2 separate regions of the Homo sapiens genome follow, and region 1 is linked to region 2. Evidence: promoter capture Hi-C in 16 types of primary human blood cells and fetal thymus (Javierre and others, 2016). All regions are on one chromosome and are shown on one strand. The core of a region is centred on a gene start or on the middle of the fragment in contact, and the rest is flanking DNA. Distances in the headings are between cores, read along the strand shown.

Evidence for each region. Contacts are between HindIII fragments. The CHiCAGO score rates a contact against its expected background, and 5 or more counts as called.
Region 1: a contact is called between a fragment that was not itself captured here and the fragment with the promoter of HTRA4 in region 2, in 2 of 17 cell types (total CD8 T cells and non-activated CD4 T cells). The highest score is 7.1, in total CD8 T cells.

The regions. Positions count from the first base shown.
Region 1 is chr8:38,868,710-38,875,339 of GRCh38, reverse strand. No RefSeq gene overlaps it. Among named protein-coding and RNA genes, the nearest start is that of PLEKHA2, 29 kb to the left of the region's middle. The HindIII fragment of the contact is 2,358 bases long and covers 2,743-5,100 here.
Region 2 is chr8:38,969,927-38,976,036 of GRCh38, reverse strand. It overlaps HTRA4 (HtrA serine peptidase 4), which reads right to left and starts at 1,809. Exons shown (of 9, transcript NM_153692.4): 1 at 1,308-1,809; 2 at 907-1,006. The coding sequence starts at 1,773. PLEKHA2 (pleckstrin homology domain containing A2) reads right to left here. Exons shown (of 12, transcript NM_021623.2): 12 at 2,125-6,110. RefSeq lists an enhancer at 1,173-1,232 and a silencer at 1,413-1,642. The HindIII fragment of the contact is 7,181 bases long and covers 1-5,607 here.

The DNA of each region.
Region 1 (6,630 bases), core at 2,672-5,171, 100 kb after region 2:
TGTGTCACTGCATTCCAGCCTGGGCAACAGAGTGAGACCCTATTTGAAAACTTCCAATAATTTCCGGGTAAGTGCTCTGCACTGCGGAGTGTAGGTGGGGGAAAATAAAAAAGTAAATAACTTGTTTCCTATATCTAGGGAAGGGAGATCATGACTCTGTCCATAGAAGGCACCAATTGATGTTTGTTAATTGACACATTGATAGGCAAGACATAATTAGAAGATAAACTAGGGCTATATAATCAAGCACTGGACGGTATGTTACAGGCAGCAAAAGCTACGGATGTTTTTCAAGGTCTCTTGACCTTGACGTTGAAGGTCAATGCATGGCTCCTACCAGCTTGTGTCTGCTTATCATGGACTGGGCCACAAATGAGGATGAAGCAAAAGAGAATCCCAAAATTACCAGATGTTAAGGGTTACAGAAAAAAAGAAAAAGAATCAGAAAATGACCCTGCCAAGTGCTCAAAGTGGTTTCTCTGCTGCCTGTCAAAGGGCTTGCCGTGTGCTGAGAAATACCTTCAGAATGAGTGCCCTTCCTGCCTTTTCAGCAGCTGCTGCTCGGAAGAAAGTGGGGCAGAAGTGGCCCGGGGTAGCAAAGAGGTGGCCAGGGAAATACATCTAGGACCAGTCTGCACACTTCTGCTCTCCAGGTTTGAGAACTGCTGTCACTGATTACTGTTGCATGAGTGCTTACTGAAAAAAGTCACGATGGGGACAACTGAAGGCAGATGTGTTCCCCGTGCCGAAGACCAATGGTGCCAAGTTCCCTTGCTCTCCGGATACGGCTGATTCAGAAGCTTTGCCAAGTGGATGCCATTGCCTGCGCCTGCGTCACAAGCAGCACAACTTAGAAGAGGACAGCTGGCTGCAGCTCAGGTGAGATGTAACCATGACCAATTTCTGAAGAAAGATGTGAAAACTTTAAATCAAGCTATAAACGGTGATGCCCCTTCTTTTCATAAATCCTAATTGTGGTGATTTCATTTGGTCTTAAGCATCAAGCAAATGACAACTTCTTTTTTTTTTTTTAATTTAATTTTACTTTTTTGGAGATAGGGTTTCACTATGTTGCCCAGGCTGGTCTCAAACTCCTGGTCTCAAGCGATCCTCCCTCCTCAACTTTTTTTTTTTCTTCTTCTTTTTTTTTTTTTTTTTTTGAGACAGAGTCTTACTTTGTCACCCAGGCTGAAGTGCAGTGGCGTGATCTCAGCTCACTGCAACTTCCACCTCCCAGGTTCAAGCGATTCTTGTGCCTCAGCCTCTCGAGTAGCTGGGATTACGCGGGCCCACCACCATGCCTGGCTAATTCTTGTATTTTTAGTAGAGGCAGGGTTTCGCCATGTTGGCCAGGCTGGTCTTGAACTCCTGACCTCAAGTAATCTGGCCTGCTTCGGCCTCCCAAAGTGTTGGGATTATAGGTATGATCCACCATGCCCAGCCCCTCCTCAGCCTCTTAAAGTGGGGGGATTACAGGGGTGACCATGGCGCCCAGCCCAAAATGCAGCTTCTTGGTGAAGTTGAAGTCAGTGTTTCTCCTACCTTAATGGTCAAAAATTTCAGCTGACTTTTTGTTTTGTTATTTTTTTAGCTTTCCATATATTTATGTCTTGGCTCACTAATCTAATACAGAGGACATGCTGTTTCCAGAGCAGGGGCCCATGAAGTTCATTGTACATAATAATCTGGTGCAAAACATCTGTAACTGGACTGACTTAGCAAGTTTTAGCCTTTTAGATCACAGCAAGGCATTAGTATTGCTTAACTATCACCTCCTGTAGAGTCCATCTTCACATAGCTCCAAGTACACACACAAAAAAGTCCTTTACAGCTACGTTTAGCTAGCTTTTGACCTCTGAATCTCGTAAGAGTTTCTTACATTCTCGTTTGCTTGGCCAGAATCTGCTTTCATCTTTTCTGCAGAAGTAGAACCTGTGTCTCCAAAGACAAATAAGGAATTTAATTCAGTGGCTTTTTGTTTCTGGGGATAAGAAATGGCAACATTTTTCAGATCTATTGTCCACCTAAAGCCATGCCCTTTCTCCAACATGGGGACAAAGGGATGGTGAATTTTTGCTCTGAATATCAATTATAAACACAAATTCACCCTGGAACTCAGAACCTAAACCTTGGTTTTATTTTTATTTATTTTTTAAGTTTTTGAGACAAGTTCTTGCTCTGTTGCCCAGGCTGGAATGCAGTGGTGCAATCATAGTTCACTGTAACCTCGAACTCCTGGGCCCAAGCGATCCTCCCTCCTCAGCCTCCTGGGCAGCTGGAACTACAGGTGTGAGCCACCAGGCCCAGCTAATTTTTAAGTTTTCTGTAGTGGTCTCACTGTGTTGCCCAGGTTGGTCTCCAACTCCTGGTCTTAAGCACTCCTCCTGCCTTGGCCTCCCAAAGCACTGGGATTACAAGTGTAAGCCACCATGCCTCGCCCTAAACTTTGGTTTTAAAAAATAAAACAGTCAGACACAGTGGCTCATGCCTGTAATCTCAGCTACTTGGGAGGCTGAGGCAGGAGAATCTCTTGAGGCCAGGAGTTCAGGACCAGCCTGGGCAGCATAGTGAGACTCTGTCTCTTAAAAAATTTTAAAAAAGGCAAAACAAAGATGTTAGTAGCATCTAATGTTAATAACATTGTGACCACAACCAATTAGCTAATTTGTTTTCTGATTAGTCACTTACATTAGCCACATCATCTTAAATAACTTAGGTTTTTACCTCCTTCTAACATAAGCTTAGCAGTAGCCTATTTTTAGATAAGTCACTTAAAGTTTCACTTGAAAGGGATCAAAAGAATCAATAATTGAAGATGGAATTAGACACACCGGGTCCAAAAAATTATGTACCCAACAGTCAGCTTTTGTGAGTTGGCGCCTCCCCAGCCCCATCATCCATATTTTAAAATGTTGAGTGTGCGTGTGCACCAGATGATTCATCCAAGCTGCTCTGGAAGTTCTCTGCTGGTGACAGTAAAGCCGACCCACCCCCCTGTCCTCCCCTCTGCCTGGTGAAAATGCAGACTATCAGTTCTGTGGCACTGTCACAGCACATCGTGGCCTTCTTTATTTAGGTGCAATGCTGGTGGGCAGTGCGCTCCTACACGCAGCTTTCCATCTCTTGATCACATTCCCCCACCACTTTTATCTGCCTGCAACACCCAAATGTTCATGCCCAAAAAGAAAGTGAGGACTTAAAGATCCCCGGGGTCCTCAGAACCCGCAGAACAGGCCCCTCCAACAGATTATCGCTTGGCTTCATTGGTCCTCATATCCAAAAAGGTTAGATATTAAACTGTTTCCCAGCCTTATCAATGCAGGAGCCTGGCTCTCTCTTCCTGCTTACTGAAGATATAACAAAAGAGATTCTGAAATTGCTGGTGGTACCAGCTCTTGGGTTTCTTTTCTTTTCTTTTCGAGGTGGAGTCTTGCTCTGTCATGCAGGCTGGAGTGTAAGTGGCATGATCTTGGCTCACTACAACCTCCACTTCTTGGGTTCAAGCCATTCTCCTGTCTCAGCCTTCCAAGTAGCTGGGATTACAGGTGCCCACAACCACGCCCAACTAATTTTTGTGTTTTAGTAGAGACAGGGTATCACCATATTGGCCAGGCTGGTCTCAAACTCCTGACCTCAGGTGATCCACCTGCCTTGGCCTCCCAAAGTGCTGGGATTATACGCATGAGCCACCGCACCCGGCCAGCTCTTGGGTTTCTTTTAACAAAGATTTTGGGGGCAGATCTGTGCTCTGAGGATAAAGCTAACCACCCTAAAAACAAGAGTCCTTCTCTGGGGTTCATCCATCCCTCCCAGTATCCCCCTCCTGAAGCCCGTGTCCCCTCCCTTCTCCACGCCATCCAGAGACTTTCACATTCAGGAGGAAAGTTGGGCTTTTTTAAACAAACAAACAAACAAACAAACAAACAAACAACTGTAGATGTTTCAAGCTAGCCCTACAGGCTTCCAGCTCTCTCCCTTCCCCTCTTCTTATTCCCCCACTCCTGGCTCCTAGTCAATGACTAAAGCTCTCCAGGAGTATTTATGGACAGGGTATCTATTGTTGACCTTGTGATCACACTAATCCTTGGCTCGGGGCTGCTCTGCTCTGCTCTGAAAGAGTCACAAGGGTGATTGGGTGGGAGTAGGGAGGAGGACAGTGCCTCATTCAGGAACAGTACATTTATTTATAGAACAGGCCTTTTCCTCTTCTTCCTAGAATCATCTGTTAATGCCGCACTTGCCATATCCTCAAACACTCCCTTTGGGAGAGAGATGATAGGGGCCCAGGACTTCAGAATTAAAGGTCAAAGTTCTTAGAGTCAGGGCACCAAAAGACTCCTCTCCCCACGTCCACGGACAAACCCAGAGAAGCTCAGATTCCTAAGAGCTGTGGACCACTGGGCATCATGATTTCCTCGATAGCACCAAAGGTGTAGCCAAATGCTCTCTCCTGGAGACGCATGACTCAATGCCTGCAGGGTGGGGAGTGGGAGCTCAATTCCTGGGAAATTCTGGCCTCATTCTGGCAGTATTTGGGGTCTGATAGGCCTAATAATCCCCTTTATCTTTTTTTATTTTTATTTTTTGAGACAGAGTCTCGCTCTGTTGCCCAGGTTGGGGTGCAATGGTGCAATCTTGGCTCACTGCAACCTCTGCCTCTTGGGCTCAAGTGATTCTCCTGCCTCAGCCTCCCAAGTAGCTGGGATCACAGGCATGTGCCACCACGCCCGGCTAATTTTGTATTTTCAGTCGAGACGGGGTTTCACCATGTTGGCCAGGCTGGTGTCGAACTCCTGACCTCAGGTGATCCACCCGCCTTGGCATCCTAAAGTGCTGGGATTACAGGTGTGAGCCACCGTGCACAGCCAGCCTAATAATTCCTTTGGGGGTTTTTGAAAAATAGGCTGGGAAATTGCTGTGGATAAGAGAGTAGGGAGATGCAAAGGGCATCACCTTGTTTATCTTGTAGCATGTGATTGCCACTATCTGGATTAAAAAAAAAAAAGAAGAAAAATACAGGGCTTCAGGCAAGGAGTGAAAATGAAGGCCATCTGCATAAAGCTGGAAGAGGACTCTTGAATCCACAGGCCTGCTTAAGCTTGGAAACATTTAGCCCACAATTATCTGCTGCCCTGTGTGACTGATTGCTTCTTGTGTTCAAGTTCTGACTGAACCAGACAGCAAATCAGTTGTAGGCAGAAGCCTTAGGGAACAGAGCTGGGTACAAAATGAGTTCTCAGAAATCCCTTGTGGATTTTCAGACGTGGATTCTTATAAGTGACTATCATTAGCATTAAAAGATGTTTTTTGAAGATGGTGATGATTGATGATAGTAATGATGATGTTTGGATGATGATGATTGATAATGATGATGATGATTGATGATGTGGTGACGGCAGAATCCTACTGGAGGAAGGAACCTTGTGTCTTTTTTATTTCTTTCTTCCCTCTGCCCAGAAAGTACAGTGCAAATAGTAGGTTTTTAAAAATCATTTGCTAGATTATCAAATAAATCATAATCATTCCATGTCTGTCAAATAAAACCTTTTTTTTTGTTTTTGAGACAGGGTCTAGCTCTGTTGCCCAGGCTGGAGTGCAGTTGCACAATCTCAGCTCACTGCAACCTACACCTCCTGGGTTCAAGTGATCCTCCCGCGTCAGCCTCCCAAGTAGCTGAGACTACAGGCACGCACCACCACTGGGCTTGGCTAATTTTTGTAATTTCTGTAGAGATGGGGTTTCACTATATTGCCCAGGCTGGTCTTGAACTCCTGGGTTCAAGCAATCCGCCCGCCTCAGCCTCCCAAAGTGTTAGGATGACAGGCTTGAGCCACCACGCCCAGCCTACACATGGAACATCTAAGTTGCTTGGTGGTGACTTTGATTAGGCTTGAAGCTTTTCTTTTTCTTAAAGAAACAAAACAAAAATAGGATGTTGGGAGCCTGCTGATCAGTTCTCCATATAACTCATCTGAGTTTGTGCTAGCACAAGGTAGTGGTTCTCAAACTTGAACCTTGCATCAGAATCACCTGGAGCTTGTTAAAAACACTAGCTGGGGCTGGGCATAGTGGCTCATGCCTGTAATCTCAGCACTTTGGGAGGCCGAAGTGGGAGAATCATTCAAGTCCAGGAATTTGAGACCAGCCTGGGCAGCATAGTGAGATCCCATCTCTGCAAAGTGAAAGCCTGTCACAATGCTGGGTATGGTGGCACCCCTGTGGTCCCAGTTACTTGGGAGGCTGAGGTAGGAGGATCATTTGAGCCCAAGAGTTAGAGGCTGTAGTGAGCCATAATCATACGATTGCACTCCAACCTGGGCAACAGAGCAAGACTCTGGCTCTAAAAAAAAAAAAAAAAAAAGCAAAAACAAAACCCACCGTAGCTGGGCCCCAGAGTTTCTGGTTCAATACCTATAAAGTAGGTCTCAAGAAGATGAGATCTTAAAGTTCTCATGCAATGCTGCTGCTCCTAGTGATCTGGGGCCCCACTTGGAAAACTGCTGCCCCAGGGTGTGTTAGCAATGTCTCAGGTTCTCCTACCTGGAACTTTATTTGGGGGGTTTAAGAAAGGTCCAGGAAATGGACTCACAACTCTGTGTAAAGAGACCTATGGAGAGGTCCCTTGGAGAA
Region 2 (6,110 bases), core at 560-3,059:
ATCTCTTGTGAGCATGGTTGAGAGTGGGGTCCAGCTCTCCTTTTCCAGGGACACTGCTTCTTCAGAGCTGGTTAGTGTAGCAGCCCATGGGTTCTCTGCTGCGAAAAGACTGAACCCAATCCTAATACTAGAGGCAAAAGTCAGCCTCTTACCACAGTATCAAGGACCCAGGCAGGAGAGAATCAAAGGGCTCTGATTCTGGCTTAGTTTCCACCGCCAACTGGCCTCGTAACATAGTAACATAGGACAAATTAACCCTGCTCTCTGGGTCTGGATTTCCTTGTATCCAAAGTGGGGGCTGAGCAAGATCACAACCAAAATGCCTACTAAGCTGGATGTGGTGGCTACACCCGTAATCCCAGCACGTCGGGAGGCTAAGGTGGCAGATCGTTTGGGCCCAGGAGTTCGAGACCAGCCTGAGCAATATAACAAGACCTCGTCTCTACAAAAAAATACAAATATTAGCTGGGTATGGTGGCACCTGCCTATAGTCCCAGTTACTCCAGAGGCTGGGTTGGGAGGATTACTTGAGCCCAGCAGATGGAGCTGCAGTGAGCCGTGATCTGTCACTGCATTTCAGCCCTGGCGACAGAGCAAGACCTTGTCTCAAAAAAAGAAAAGAAATTGCCTACTAGCTCTTATATCTGACCTTAAATTTTGTCTGTGGCAGGAGGGGGAAAAAGCACCAGCCACCTAAGTGGGCAGGGGGAGCTGGGATTTAGAAGTCAGCATCCTTGTGCCTCTGCTCTTTGGTTAAATGACCTTGAACAGGTTATTCAACCTCTTTACGTCTCAGTTTCCTCACTGGTTTTTTAGGATTAAATGACGCTTGCGAAGGGTCTGGAGCAGGTAGGCACGCAGAAACCATTAGCTGGGACAGTGGAGGTCTTCCTCCTCCTCCTTTACCTGCCCCACAGCTGCACGTGAACCACCGATGGCGCCACCTTCTCCACCACCGCGGCGATGAAGTTGTAATTCCTCCTGAGCGGGCCTGCGCTTCTGGTCCCTATGAAAAAATACTGGCTCAAGAGTACGCCTCGAGGGAACCAGACCTGCTATCCTAGTTGGAAAAATGTTAAAGGCAAGACAGTGTTCAAAAGGTGCATGGGGAGGGAGAAACCACGTAGCAGCCGGTAAAGAGCCCCTGTTAAGGAGGAAAGGAAATCAGGAACACAGAGGTGTCGAATCCAGGAGGCAAATGACGCAGGAGGACCAGGCGCGAACTGTGCGGTCTCAGTGAGGTCTTGTTCCTTTACGCTCCTCCAGAGTTAGAAAGTGTTCCGAGGGCGCGCGCCCCCGCGGCTCACCTGTATCCCCGCAGTTCCCCCACTGCACAGGCACGGCCGGGACCTTGCCCAGGCGGCGCGCGGCGCGGTTTTCGGCCCGGAGCGCGCACATGCTGGGGTAGGTGCGCCTGTCGCTGCCGCACACGGCCCCTCCCAGCGTCGGGCAACCGCAGGTGCTGGGGAACCCGGGGCGCAGCGGCTGGAGGCACTGCAGCCCCGGGGCGCACGGTTGGCCCTGCGCCCCGCCGCAGACTTCACGCTCGGCCGCGGGGCAGACGCGGCAACAGCGGCACAGGTCGAACACCGGCGTGGTCCCCAGCGCGCAGGTGGGCAGCGCGGGGCAGCGCGTGGGCTGGCAGACCGCGGGGCAGGAGGGCTGGGTATGTAGCTTTTCAGCCCCGGCCCAGAGGACGGGCACCAGGAGCAGCAGCAGCCCCGGCAGGAGGCATCGTCCCAGCCCCGCGGTCCGCAGCTGAGGTCTAATCATCCTGTTCCTTCCTCGCTTCCACTCTTCAGTGACTTTACTCTGGACCTGCAAACCCTCCTAAATGAGAGACACTTTCTCCCGGCCACGGCGCCGCCTCCGCCGGCCCCCAAACTTTAAGGGGCAGAGCCTGGCATACCTCTGCATATACACACCCGTACATCCCCTACCACCCGCCCCCGTCGGCGCCCCGGAGCCAGGTTCTCCCCCAGGCAATGAGGGGAAGGTCTCTAGCCCTACCCGGAGCAGGAACCTACCTCCTGAAATCCCTAAAACCGACAATGAGGGCAGACTGATAAGAAAGCTCACCCACCCATGGTCAGAAGGTCAGTATTAGGAAAACACATGACCATATTTCAGTATTTCACATGGTTTTATTACAAAACAAGCCACAAAACAGTTTTAGAAAATTTTTGCTACATACCAATTAGGAGATCACATAAAATGAGAAGCGTAACAGTTTCCATGCACTCAGCCTAGAGCTTACAGCGAGTGCATTTCACAGCTGAAACATCACTGCTTTAAAACACAGAATCATGCTACCCCTTCATAAGCAGAGGGGGAGGAGGTCAAACAGTATGTTTTTGCCAAACGTTTGCTTTATCTGAACTCTATCTAGTATGAAGGACTGGCTGCCGCAGGCAATAACACAGAGAGGAAAAGGAACAAAGGAAGAAAAGGGTGCTGGCAGACAAGATTTAACAAACCTGTCCACTTCCGACATTTTGAAAGTTTATAAACAAAGCTCACTTGGGGACACTCAATTTCCAAAATGCTGTGACCTCCACATGTTATCTAATTTATACTGAAAACAAACCTACTAAACTCCACTCCTCAACTACTGAACCTGCTATTTATTCATGGGGTCTTTTTAGCCCATATAAGAGTATATTTATATTCAGAAATATAAAAGAAAAAAAATTTGCTTCAAGTAGACTAAGAAGCTGGACCTTAAAACTACTTTCTTTCTCGTGGGAGCTGAGTATTCAACTCAGAAATAGATGTATAACTCCAATATTCTGACCTGACATCAATCTCCATAATGTATACCTCAATACCCTTATGATGTCTCACTTAACACTAAAGGCCAAATTATTTTTACCAACCATCAGCTGACATTGAGTAAGCAAGTCTTTTGAAGATTTCAAAAGTAATAGATGGTGGCCAGGCGTGGTGGCTCACACCTATAATCTGAGTACTTTGGGAGGCTGTGAGGCAGGAAGATCACTTGAGCCCAGGAGGTCCAGGCTGCAGTGAGCCATGATCAGGCCACTGCACTCCAGCCTGGGTGACAGAGTGAAACACTGTTTCTAAAAATAAAAATTAAAGAATAATGGATGGCATTATTCAGCCATGGGGAGGACCACCTGAAATACTGTTACACACAGTGGGTCAAGACCACTTCAAAAGCCTTATGAAAATAGCACAACTCAGGCAAGGCTTTTATTCCACAAAGAAAATGCAGTACATTTTTTAGTTCCTTTAAAAAAAAAAAAACTCAGATTTACTCCAGAGCCTATGCACTTAGTCACTAATCTATACTGCATCCCCAACCTATTTTTTCCATTTGGTTCAATTTTATACATTTAAAACTAACTGCTTTGGTCAAATACGTACCATCTTTGGTTCACATTAAAAGATTATGGTCCAAAACTGGCCAGAAGTTAAGAAATATCAACAAAATAGGAAGTTTGAAATACAATTTAGGAATGGAATGCTTTTAGAGCTTGTTTCATTGAAGATAATAATTTATCTCATATTGAACTACATTAACGATGTTCTGGCTAGGTGCAGTGGCTCACACCTGTAATCCCAACACTTTAGGAGGCCAAGGCAGGAGGATCACTTGGGCCAGGAGTTTGAGAGAGCCTGGGCAACATAGCCAGGCTCTGTAGATAAAAAAAAATTAAAAATTAGCCAGGCGTGGTAGCACAACCCTGTAGTCCTAGCTACTTGGGAAGCTAACATGGGAGGATTGCTTAAGCCCAGAGATTCAAAGTTATGATGAACTATGATCACACCACTGCACTCTAGCCTGGGTAAGAGAGTGAGACCCTGTCTTTTAAAAATTAAAAAAAAAAAATTAAAAACAAGCAATGCTCTAATGTGGAATTCCCAAGTGTTTGCCAATTGACAAGAAGATTTCCATTTGACAGTCTTAGTGTCCTCGTTTCCCTTTATCAGGATAATACCATATGGATTCTATGTATGTTTAATTTGTCACATTCTCAAAAGAGATCTTGCTGAATAAGAAACAAATCAGCTTATTATAATGGCCAATTAATTTAGCAATAGTAACCTATCAGATAATTTTTTTTTTGAGATGGAGTCTTGCTCTGTCGCCCAGGCTGGAGTGCAGTGGCGCGATCTTGGCTCACTGCAAGCTCCGCCTCCCAGGTTCACACCATTCTCCTGCCGCAGCCTCCCAAGTAGCTGGGACTACAGGCGCCTGCCACTGCGCCCGGCTAATTTTTTTTTCGTATTTTTAGTAGAGACGGGGTTTCACCGCGGTCTCGATCTCCTGACCTCGTGATCCGCTCGCCTCGGCCTCCCAAAGTGCTGGGATTACAGGCGTGAGCCACCTTGCCGGCCTTATCAGATAATTTATTTAAAAGAAAAGAGAGAGAGAGAGATAAATGGGTAGATTTTCACAATGTATACACCAAAAGAGGACATCTTTTCCGTGAGTCAGGGAATATTTAAAGAGATATCAAAAGTCCCTATTTTCATGAGTTCCACATCACATATTTTGTGCTTTCTTTGAATAGCCAAAAAATTTTCTTGGGGAAAATACGAGAGTAAAACCAGAGCTAAGGAGCTATAAGAATTTGGAATGGCTTCTTGAAATCATGCCGCTCCAAGTATGTCATAACCTCGATCACTCAAAAATACATAACTCCCAAACCAAGAATTTCTGAGGGCAAAAGCACACCAGCGTGTATAGGAAAGGCAGGGGAAGGGATGGAAGGGAGAGAAAGAGGGAACAATGTAGATTTCCTGTTTTATACCAGGAAAACTAGGCCAAACTCAATTTAAATGAATAGCTCCAAAGCAGTGCAGTCAGAAAAAGTTCTCAGTGTGACATAGACTTCAGGGAAACAACACGTCCTGAAAGAAACATGATTCCCCTCAAGCCACAAAGGATTTTCTCATCAAGTGTTTTCACCTCTGCATTAGATTTGGACACAAGAAGAGGAGAGCATTTACTCAGGTAAAAATAGTTCTCTTAGTCTCTTCCTCTAGTTACTAATTTTTAATTTAAAAATACAATTAACTGATCTAGCTGATAAAAGTCACAGACAGAAATAAGCTAAGTTCTCTCTTCCTTTAGGGAACGCTGGTGGCAATTCACCATATAAACTGGATGGAAGAATTCTCCCAGGGACACTGGAAATAGCATCTTCTTATCAAATGGAAGGAGGTACGCCCTAAAATTTGGGTGGGACACTCAATTTTCTTTTATATTTTGAGACGGAGTTTCACTCTTGTTGCCCTGACTGGAGTGCAATGGCGCGATCTTGGCTCACTGCAACCTCCACCTCCTGGGTTCAAGTGAATCTCCTGCCTCAGCCTCTGAGTAGCTGGGATTACAGGCCTGCACCACCACGCCCGGCTAATTTTGCATATTTTTTAGTAGAGGCGGGGTTTCACCATGTTGGCCAGGCTGATCTCGAACTCCTGACCTCAGGTGATCCACCCGCCTCAGCCTCCCAAACTACTGGCATTACAGGCGTGAGCCACCATGCCCGCTCAAAACTCAATTTTCTAGGCTCTTTTATCTGAGGAATCTCTGGCCAGCAACTCATAACATCTAAATCAATGTTTCTATGCCAAGCTTCTATTTCATTAAAAATATATATCTCTCTCTAGATTCTTTTTGTATCTCTTCATGTTAAGTGCATGGAAATTCATCCTATTACAGGGTCTGATCATGCAAGCACACAAGGCTTCATTCAAAGGGCAACAGCAAGAAGAAAGAGAAAGCAAGTTTGCAAGGGTACAAAACACATAGCGCTTAAAATTAGACTAATGCTGGCCCATTCCAAAAGAGCTGCGAGGCACCTGGACTGAAAACAAAATGAAAAAACTAAAACAAGGACAAGGAAATAAAACTTGGTCATTGGTGAAACTGGACTTCCAGCCCCCTCTGGAGAGGAGCTGCTAAAACAATCCCTCTCCAGGAAGACCTCAGAATAGTTAGAATAGAATAGGTAGCTTCCTCTCCACTGAGTATGCCTACAGTTCTAACCTAGTGACTTCCCCAAATTAAATACACTGCGTTGATATTACACACACACACACACACACACACACACACACACACAGCCCAGCTGGATGGG